2 separate regions of the Homo sapiens genome follow, and region 2 is linked to region 1. Evidence: promoter capture Hi-C in 16 types of primary human blood cells and fetal thymus (Javierre and others, 2016). All regions are on one chromosome and are shown on one strand. Each heading gives the region's core, a stretch centred on a gene start or on the middle of the fragment in contact. The rest is flanking DNA. Distances are from core to core; before and after follow the strand shown. Region 1 holds the start of PARP14 (poly(ADP-ribose) polymerase family member 14). Region 2 overlaps CD86 (CD86 molecule).

Region 1 (4,394 bases), core at 1,187-3,686:
GGAGAGTGTCCTCTGCAGAAGAAGAATGCACTTCTGGGACTTCAAGCGTAGGTCATTCATTGTTAGCAAATTCCTGACCCTTGTTACTGAGAAAGTGGTTCCTCAAGTAGGAAACTGAAACTGACTAGGGATTTTCCACCCCCAAGAACTTAGACCATACTAGGTTTCGAGTTTGTTTTTGTTTGTTTGTTTCTTTTTGTTTGTTTGTTTTTGTTTTGTTTTAGATGGAGTCTTGCTCTGTTGCCAGGCTGGAGTGCAGTGGTGCGATCTCACCTCACTGCAACCTCTGCCTCCCTGGTTCAAGCAATTCCCCTGCCTCAGCCTCCTGAGTAGCTGGGACTATAGGCGCACACCACCACGCTCGGCTAATTTTTTTGTGTGTTTTAGTAGAGACAGGGTTTCACCATGTTGCTCAAGGATGGTCTCGATCTCCTCAACTCGTCATCCACCTGCCTCAGCCTCCCAAAGTGCTGGGATTAACAGGCGTGAGCCACCACGCCCGGCCGGTTTTGAGTTTTAATAAGTTTTGGGTCATCTGTGCTGGGGGGTAAGACAAGAGGGGCCACTGGAGCAGCCTGGGGGTGGAGGAAGAGGAGTAGTGGGCTGGGGCCGGTCAAGGATGGAAGCCCAGCAGGAAGACTGAAATCTTTTCTGCTTGGAGGGCTAGAATTGAGTTATTTTATCATCACAAAATTATACTTTGTGCTATTTGTATTTTCATGCTGTTTAAATTTGTATAATTATTTCTTTTTGTTCATTTGGGGTTAACATTAACTACGGAAATTCTGAAACTTGAACACATTAGGGTCACCTGGGCTGCCGGTTAAATACACGCTTCCCACCCACCCCACATTCACTGAACCTGAATCTCTAAAACAGAGCTGGGAAGGTGCCTGGTTAACCTGCTCTCCAGGTGATTCAGATGCAGGTCAGACCTACTTCTAAGGATAATGGAATCTAAAGGAGAAAGAAGCATCCTTAAGGGCCAGATCGATGGTGATGCTGACCTCTGAAGTCAAAGTGGGGAAAACCCTCAAGGAAAAGTGACACCCAAAAGAGAAATGACTAATATCACACAGTTGCCCTTCTGAGCACTCCTTGGTAAAATTAATCCTAGGAAAACATGGTATTTTGTTTTCATAAGGGCCATGAGCCAAGCATATCTCCTGTCCCCCTCCTTCCTTCCTTCTGTGCGCCATTCTTTTTCTGTTTCATTTTTCCTTTTTGGATCCCTGCTTGGGCACTCTAATTGCATGGCCTCAGCCTCAGCCTCCTTGCCTCTCCTCTGGCCCGAATGCTTCTCCAAATCTAGCGACATGAAAGCGGAATTAGGGGTTGACTAGATCCCGATAGGTCATCATCCATAAGATGCCAGTGGAAAAGGTGCCCATTCTGGGAGCTGCAGGTCACTGGCTTCCCATTGCAGACCAGGGAGGCCCTTGAGCCAGCAGATCACCTCTGGGCTCTTGGCCCACCAAGTAGTGGTGGGTCTGTAAGGAGGGAACTTTGCCGACTTTCCCTCCAAAGCTCAAATCTCCCAACCCACAATCACTTCAGAATATCATCCTTGCTCCCAATCTGAGGGCCACTAGAGACTCGGAGAAGAGGCCCCGGCAGGCCCTCGACAATGGGCACCTGTGGTCGATCGACAGCCCCTCCAATGTGGCCGCTGTGACGGCTCTACGTTGACATTCAGGCAGTGTGATTTTAGGTAGCGCCTCTGCCCCTCTCCCAAGTGACCCCGGGACCCCTGGGAATCTCCAAGAACCACAAGGAATCTCTGTGACTTGCCACGTTTCTTAATCAGTTTCCTTCCCCACACAAGAATAATAACAACAGGAAAAGACAGAAAAGGATGATAAGAGGATAGACTCACTTCCACAACAACAACAACAAACAATAACACCACCACAACAGGGAAAGACAGAAAACGATCGAGGGATAAAGAGTTACTTGCGCGGTTCCGCCGCCACCTCCGGGCCGCGCCATTAAGCGCCTGGAAGCGCAGGGCGCCGGGGAACCGCAGCGCCCCGGGTGCGCTCGGAATCCATTCTGCCGCCCCCGCCCCCGCCCCCGCCCCGGCCACCTCCGCTACAGCAGCCGCCGAAGTCGGGCGGGTCACCCTCCCGTGCGTGCCCTGCCGCCATTTCCCTGGAGGGAGGGCAGAGGTGCCCCCTCCTCACCCCACCCCTCGCGCCCCTCACCGTCCTCCGGGTAGAAGAACACCAGGAAGCGGGATGGGCTCCTGGGATCCTGGCGGACCTCACACTCGCCGCCTCCCGACCTCTTCGGGCTCTGGAAGTACATCTGCAACTTGGTGTTCAAGTTCTTCGGGGGGTCGGGGCCCCAGGAGCCCTCGACCAGCAGCGGGAAGGAGCCGGGCACAGCCATCCTCAGCTCCGCTCTCCGCCGGACTGCAGGGGCCGCGCCAACTCCGGGCCGCTAACTTTGACTCTTTCGCTTTCGTTTCCTGGAAAACTCCCAGGCCTTGGTTTCCTTTTGCCTTCAGCCTAACACAGCGGACCCAGGAATGGCAGAGTCATCCCCCGCCCACCTCCCCACCTTCGCATTCGGCCCACAGCCAAGGCCAAAGTAACCCTTTGGGGCTGGCCAGCGGCGCCCCGGGAAGGCGGCCTCAGTTCACCTGTGCTCCACGGGCTCCCACACCCCCTCCTAACTCCGGGCCCCCTACCTGCCGCTCGCCCCAACCGCAGATCAAGTCGGCAGCTTTGGGGCACCAGACCTTGCCCAAACGCAAAGATCATTTAATTTTTGCCGCAAGCCGACCCTTTACAAAAGAATAAAATGACTCACAAACTGTGGCCCCTTTAGAATGTTTGCTGCCTATTTGGGGACTTTTTCAGCAATCATTGTGATTATCAGAATTTTACGTTGCTTTCCCTGTTTTGCTTTCTGTTCCTTGATCTGTTAATACTACATGTCTAGAAATGTGGGGGAAACAATTACACTCACAGTTTTTTTTGTGGAATATTTACTAGGCGCCATGCACTCACTCACTGAACCCTCGCTGAGCTCACGGAGCTATGGTGAACACAGTGGGCAATAGGTGCTCTGGGAAAGAATATACTTGTGTTCCTGGAACAGATGAGGAGTGGCTCCTAGTCCAGCTGTGGCGGCTCAGGGAGGGTTTATAGGGCGGTGACATGTAACCTGATAACCCCAGGATATCAGGGGATAGCCTTGGAGGGTTAGGAAGTGGGGTTCCACGGTGTGATTCACATGTACAGGATCACTCCGGCTGCTGCGTGGTGGCTAGAGTGGAGGCAGAGAGATCAGCCAAGTGGCTACCATAGTGTCCTAAGTGAGAGACAAGGGTGGCTGAGACTGGGGTGCTGGCAGAGAAGAACTGAGAAAACGAGGATTCTCAATTAATAGTGAAAGCAGGACTTGCTGAAGAATGTGAGCCTTGAGAGAAGGAGAAGCTCAAGGATGACTCCATGGTCAGCCATGGATGGCCCGTGCAAGTGGCTGGATAATAGTGGCATCTGCAAGAGGGGAGGCCGAGTGATGGGAGAGAAGCTGGGGCTGTGTGTTTCCTTGACCCCAAATAAAGCAGTGTTGCAAGTCGAGGGGGGCGGGGGGATTATCATTCCAGTGCTACCGATACCTCAGGTCAGAGAAGTGTCTGCTGGACTGCTGAGGAGCGGCAAGCATAGTCTCCTGGTGAGGAGGGAGGAGAGGGAGATGGCAGCTACTGAAGACTGAAAGGGAGGGAAGGAAGTGGAAGCAGAGAGCGTAACACGCTCTTTGCAGAAATGTGACCGTGAAGGGGAAGAAGGAGCCAGGCAGTAGGTTGTGGGGTTACAGGATCGGGCTGAATTTCAGAATGAAGAGAACCAGAGATGGGCCAAATGGTTTACCTGGCTTTTATTTCGGCTCTGTAATAATCCTAAACAGTACACAGATATTTTCTCCTGCCTCCAGCTTGCTACCTGCAGATGGCGCTCATCATCTGATCCAAAACTGCTCTGGACCCCCGCATGCGGAAGACGGGAGGACAAGCGCCCTCAGCCAGACTTGGTGACTGTTTCTCCCCAGGGCCTTTACATCTCATCCCAAACCACAACTAAAATCAGCACTCCTCCTCTCCCACTCTCCCCTGAGTTTGGGGTTCCAGAACTCAGCAAAAAGTTTCCCTTTTTCCTCACATAATTATTGTATAAGAAATAAAGTCAGAGGCATTTCTGGATTACTTTCGAGGATTTATTTAATTATCGACAATGTGTCTTACCACCGAGGTCTGCTTATCATGCCTGGGTGGACTGGGAAGGAGCTATCAGAGGATCAGGATGGCAGGTCTTGAAAGCCAAGGAAAGAAAGTTCTAGAAGGGGCAAATTGTTGAACGGCATTAGCTCCTGCAGTACTTTGTTTT
Region 2 (4,394 bases), core at 1,196-3,695, 580 kb after region 1:
CAGAAACAACCCAATGTCTTTTACTGAGTTGAATGGATAAACAATAAAATGCTACTCAGCAATAAAAAGGGACAAGCTCGATATGTGCAACAACTTGGGTGAATCTCGAAGGCGCGCTAAACGAAAGAAGCCAGGCTTAAAAGGTTACATACTGTGTGGCTTCACTTATGTGACACTGTCAAAAAGACAAAACTATAGGATGCCCAACAAGGGTTATGAGTGCAGACAGGGTATGACTCTATGAAGGGACAGCCTGAGGGAAATTTTTAGGGTGATAGAAATGCTCTATGTCCTGTGGCGGTTACCTAAATCTATACAAGATCTATACAATCAGTAGAACAGTATATCAAAACAAAAAAAAATAATTTTACTGTGTGATAGTTTTAAAAAAATCTGTAGTGGCATTTAGGCCTTCCAAGGTCTCGTGAAGCAGAGGAGCTGGTTTGTAAGTTTGTGGGTTATGTTTGTTGGGTTTTTTTCCCTTCTGTCTACCAGGCTCATGGTTGTGGCAGCAAACAACTCATAAGCAACCTAGAGGAGGCTGAAGGGAAAACCCAAATGTGTCAGCTGTCCGCTTTGCTAGGAGCTCCAGGCAAAGATTTAGTAGGTGAAAAATCTTGGACCCAAGGAAAAAATGAATGTAAGACATCTGAGGCCTTTATGGTTATATAAACTTTGTGATGGCCAAATTATCCATGGTTTTTACTATAGGTAATTAGCCATATTATCTTTGTTCAATTAGCTCTATTTTTTCCCCAAAGCAGATTTTTACTGATCCTTCAGAAGCAGACTATAAAAAGTACAAAAGACTTTCAGTTCCCTACTCCCAGACTCTACACTCCCTTCAAATGCACTTCCCAGAAGTGGCTGTCCTCTGCCTTCTCTCTATAGACCCCCCTTTTCCCCTGGGCCCCTCAAGTCCCCCTCCAGTGTTTTTCTAACTCATTTGCAGTCTCATCTGAGAAGGCTAAGAATCTGAACACACACCATTGACCACATACCAAGCACTGACAGTTCAGAATTCATCTGGTGGATGCGAATCATTCCTGTGGGCTTTTTGTGATGGATGATACATTGATACAAGCCCTTGTCCTTGATCTGAAGATTGTGAAGTCTCAGGGTCCAACTGTCCGAATCAAAACTTGTGCGGCCCATATACTTGGAATGAACACTGTCAAATTTCTCTTTGCCTAAGTATACCTCATTCAGAACCAAGTTTTCCTGGTCCTGCCAAAATACTACTAGCTCACTCAGGCTTTGGTTTTGAGAGTTTGCAAATTGGCATGGCAGGTCTGCAGTCTCATTGAAATAAGCTTGAATCTTCAGAGGAGCAGCACCTAAAAAAGAAGGTTAAGGATTAGGGAGGGAGAAACAAGAGGAAAGGGGAAAAAACCTCCATTTCTCTTTATACAATACCCAGATACTATCTTATCAGTAATCATGCTGAAGAATAAGATATTAAGCTCTGGAACTGTGCACATCTGCTTGGCATCTGGAGATTAGGACCTTTGTCCTTGCTTCACCGCTGACTAAATGTGTGGCCTTGTACAAACTGCAATCTTTATGAGCCTCAGTTTCCTCATCTGATTAATGAAGTGGTTGACTAAATGTTCCAAGGGTCTTTCTAGTACTGTGGTTCTGTGAATTTAAATTGCAAGACAGGGAAAAACCAGTAGAGTTAGACAACCCATTCACCCACCAGTTACCTTCCTATAACCTTAATTTTAGTTTTCATCACTGTAGCTGTTACAGGTTCCATAACTTCTACACCATCACCAAAAGCTTTCCCCTCCCCTCCCATCCACATATTCCTTGGTCTGCTATGGTGAAAAGATTGCTGATAATGGTAATAAATTATAGCCCCCCTTTATTATACTTCATTAGTTGGGGAATCACGTTGAGTAACATCTTTGAAATTCAAATAGCTCCCTTTACAGAACTTCCCCTATGACTGCTGCTCCCATGGCCAGCACTTCCAAGGATGTCAAATGCTTTAGAAATGACTTCGATAGTGAACCAAGGCCTTTATTTTCAGTGACCTCTCTAAGCTCTTTCAGAGATCAGAAAGAGAACTGGGCAAATTTGATGGCTGTTTTCGGATTGTGGTGGTCAATGACCATTTAAGGCACATGAGTGAAATGCTGAAAATGAATCATAGATGGGCAGGTGAGGATGTGCTTTGGGAGTATTGGGGAAACCCCAGGCACCACAAACTTGCTGCTCCCAGTATGCACTGACCCTGGACAATTTTACAACCATAGACATCATGCTGGAAGGGTTGAGAGAAAGGCTTTAGTCCTTGAGGACACTTTGGGGTTTGTGGGAAGGATGTGGGCCACCCAACTACTTAAATGTGAATGATCACGGGGTTTGTGTAGGACCTTTTCTAGGTTACAGAATTACTTGAGACTTGGCAAAAAAAAAAAAAAAAAAAAAAAAAAAGTAAGCAGTGGTGGGTGAGAAGTGCGGGGGTGGAGAGTGGGAAGGCTGTTTCTTACTTAATATGAAGTTAGATGCCACCTTGGAGAGGAAGTTAGTGTAAGTTCTAAATAAAATTTCATCATTCAGGATTTATGTGAAGGCATGTTGACATTGAGGAGGAAAGGGAGGAGATGGGTTGATGAGAGAGATGAGAGGAGCTTCATTTGAAGAGTTCTAAGTGGGGGAGTAATTAAATTGATGTGGTTTCTCTTGAAAGAGGGAATAGAAGGACAGATAACAGTGACATGCACTTGTCAAACTAAACTGTGTACAGAGTGGCCCAGTGAGAACACATAATCAAGGGGTTGGTGGTGGTCTTGAACTCTTAGGGAAGCAGACAGCAGGCATCAGTGGGAGTTTGCACAAATATGAATCACTGCCTATTTCACTACACTCACTAGGACCCTGTGAAGTACTTGAGGTATAAAATGCACCACCTGTAGAGGATGCGTACCGGTATTGGAGGGAGGAAGGAAAATCTATATGCGTACCCTGACAGTGAAAGGGAGACCTAAGGAAGATTTAGTGTGTTTATGAATCACCTTACAAGGCAAACCTGAGGCTTCTGCATCTTCTTTGCTGAGCTCTTAATGTAATGCAAGAGTGCCCCCTACTGTAAAAGCTTCTAGCATTGTCTCTGAGGAAATACTGGTTTTAGTCTAAATTGTCATGTAATATAGGACAGATGACCTGATGGAGAAACCAAACACACAGTTAAAAATTCTGCCAATTAACAGTCAATGTTATGTTATTACTCAGCTGTCAGTTGTGCCTTCTGGACCTGGAAATGACTTCGTCTTTAGCTGCTTCTGTCTTCTTGATTTACATATATATATATATATATATATATATATTTTTTTTTTTTTTTTTTTCTGTAGAGCCTCACAGTATCTTCTTTCCTTCCCATCCATTCTGTCCACTCACAGACCAGTCTAACTCCGCTGACCCAGGCCCCTTCTCCCAAAGATTACAACGGCTTTCTCTTCCACTCATCGAGTGCTCCCTTCTTCACCTAGCAACTGAAAGTGTGATGTATGGACCAATGAGATTCACGTCACATGTGGGCTGGTCTGAAACACGGAATCTCTGGCCCCACCCAAGACTTACTGATTCAGAACCTCCATTTTAACAAGAGCTATAGTTTGAGCAGCTGTTGTAGAGAATCTCTGCCTCTGTCTCCAGAGTGGATCACAGAAAATGACATGAAAATTTTTTTTCCATCCATCCCTCCTCAGACTCCCTCTCCTCCCCATGGGGTGGAAATCACTTTGAAATCCATTCTGAGTGGAACTGAAAGTATTTTGCAATTTATACTCCATAGCACCTCACCAACCACTGGCTTCCATGATCTCACACAGAGCCAGGCATGGGGGATGCTGCTAATCCTTTCTCTGACTAAATGGGGAAAGTTTGGCTCAAGGTCTGTGATCACCAAATGACTTCAGGCCTTCCATTTTATGACCCCAGACCTCAAGCCACCTAGCAACTGGACTTACTGGGATTCCATAGGTGGGTAAGCATTGAGAATCTCTCCCTTCCCCAGCACTTGGGTAAGAGGAATGGTCGAAGTCTAGTTACAATGGGTTGCTATGATGTCAGGAACAAGTCGCTCAAGAATCCAGCTAGATGCCTTCGTAATCAGCTGAAGGAATTTGTTTCAAAGGATAATTAAGGACTTCCTGAGCAATACACTCTACTGTTGGAATGCCACTCAAAAACTGTAATTTGCTAGCCTTATGAAGTCTCTGACCCCACTGGGACTTCAGTGTTCCCTGGCTGCTATCCCCAAATGCATATCTTATATGTTTAAGAATTATCTCTTCTTTATGTTCCTATGCTTATCTGTACTAAAAAAAATTCCTTCTTTTACTAAACTTCCTCCAAAGTTTTACTTGGCCCTTTGAAAGCCTCAT

Evidence for each region. The method cuts DNA at HindIII sites, captures the fragments that hold promoters and counts their contacts. A CHiCAGO score of 5 or more calls a contact.
Region 2: a contact is called between a fragment that was not itself captured here and the fragment with the promoter of PARP14 in region 1, in 1 of 17 cell types (fetal thymus). The highest score is 7.3, in fetal thymus.

The regions. Positions count from the first base shown.
Region 1 is chr3:122,678,881-122,683,274 of GRCh38, reverse strand. It overlaps PARP14 (poly(ADP-ribose) polymerase family member 14), which reads right to left and starts at 2,436. Exons shown (of 17, transcript NM_017554.3): 1 at 2,205-2,436. The coding sequence starts at 2,391. RefSeq lists enhancers at 23-212, 1,698-1,787, 2,329-2,728, 2,153-2,925, 3,329-3,448 and 1 more and a silencer at 2,039-2,088. The HindIII fragment of the contact is 13,941 bases long and covers 1-4,394 here.
Region 2 is chr3:122,100,455-122,104,848 of GRCh38, reverse strand. CD86 (CD86 molecule) reads right to left here. Exons shown (of 7, transcript NM_175862.5): 3 at 1,002-1,337. Among named protein-coding and RNA genes, the nearest start is that of CD86, 47 kb to the right of the region's middle. RefSeq lists a silencer at 488-557 and an enhancer at 3,600-3,789. The HindIII fragment of the contact is 1,321 bases long and covers 1,785-3,105 here.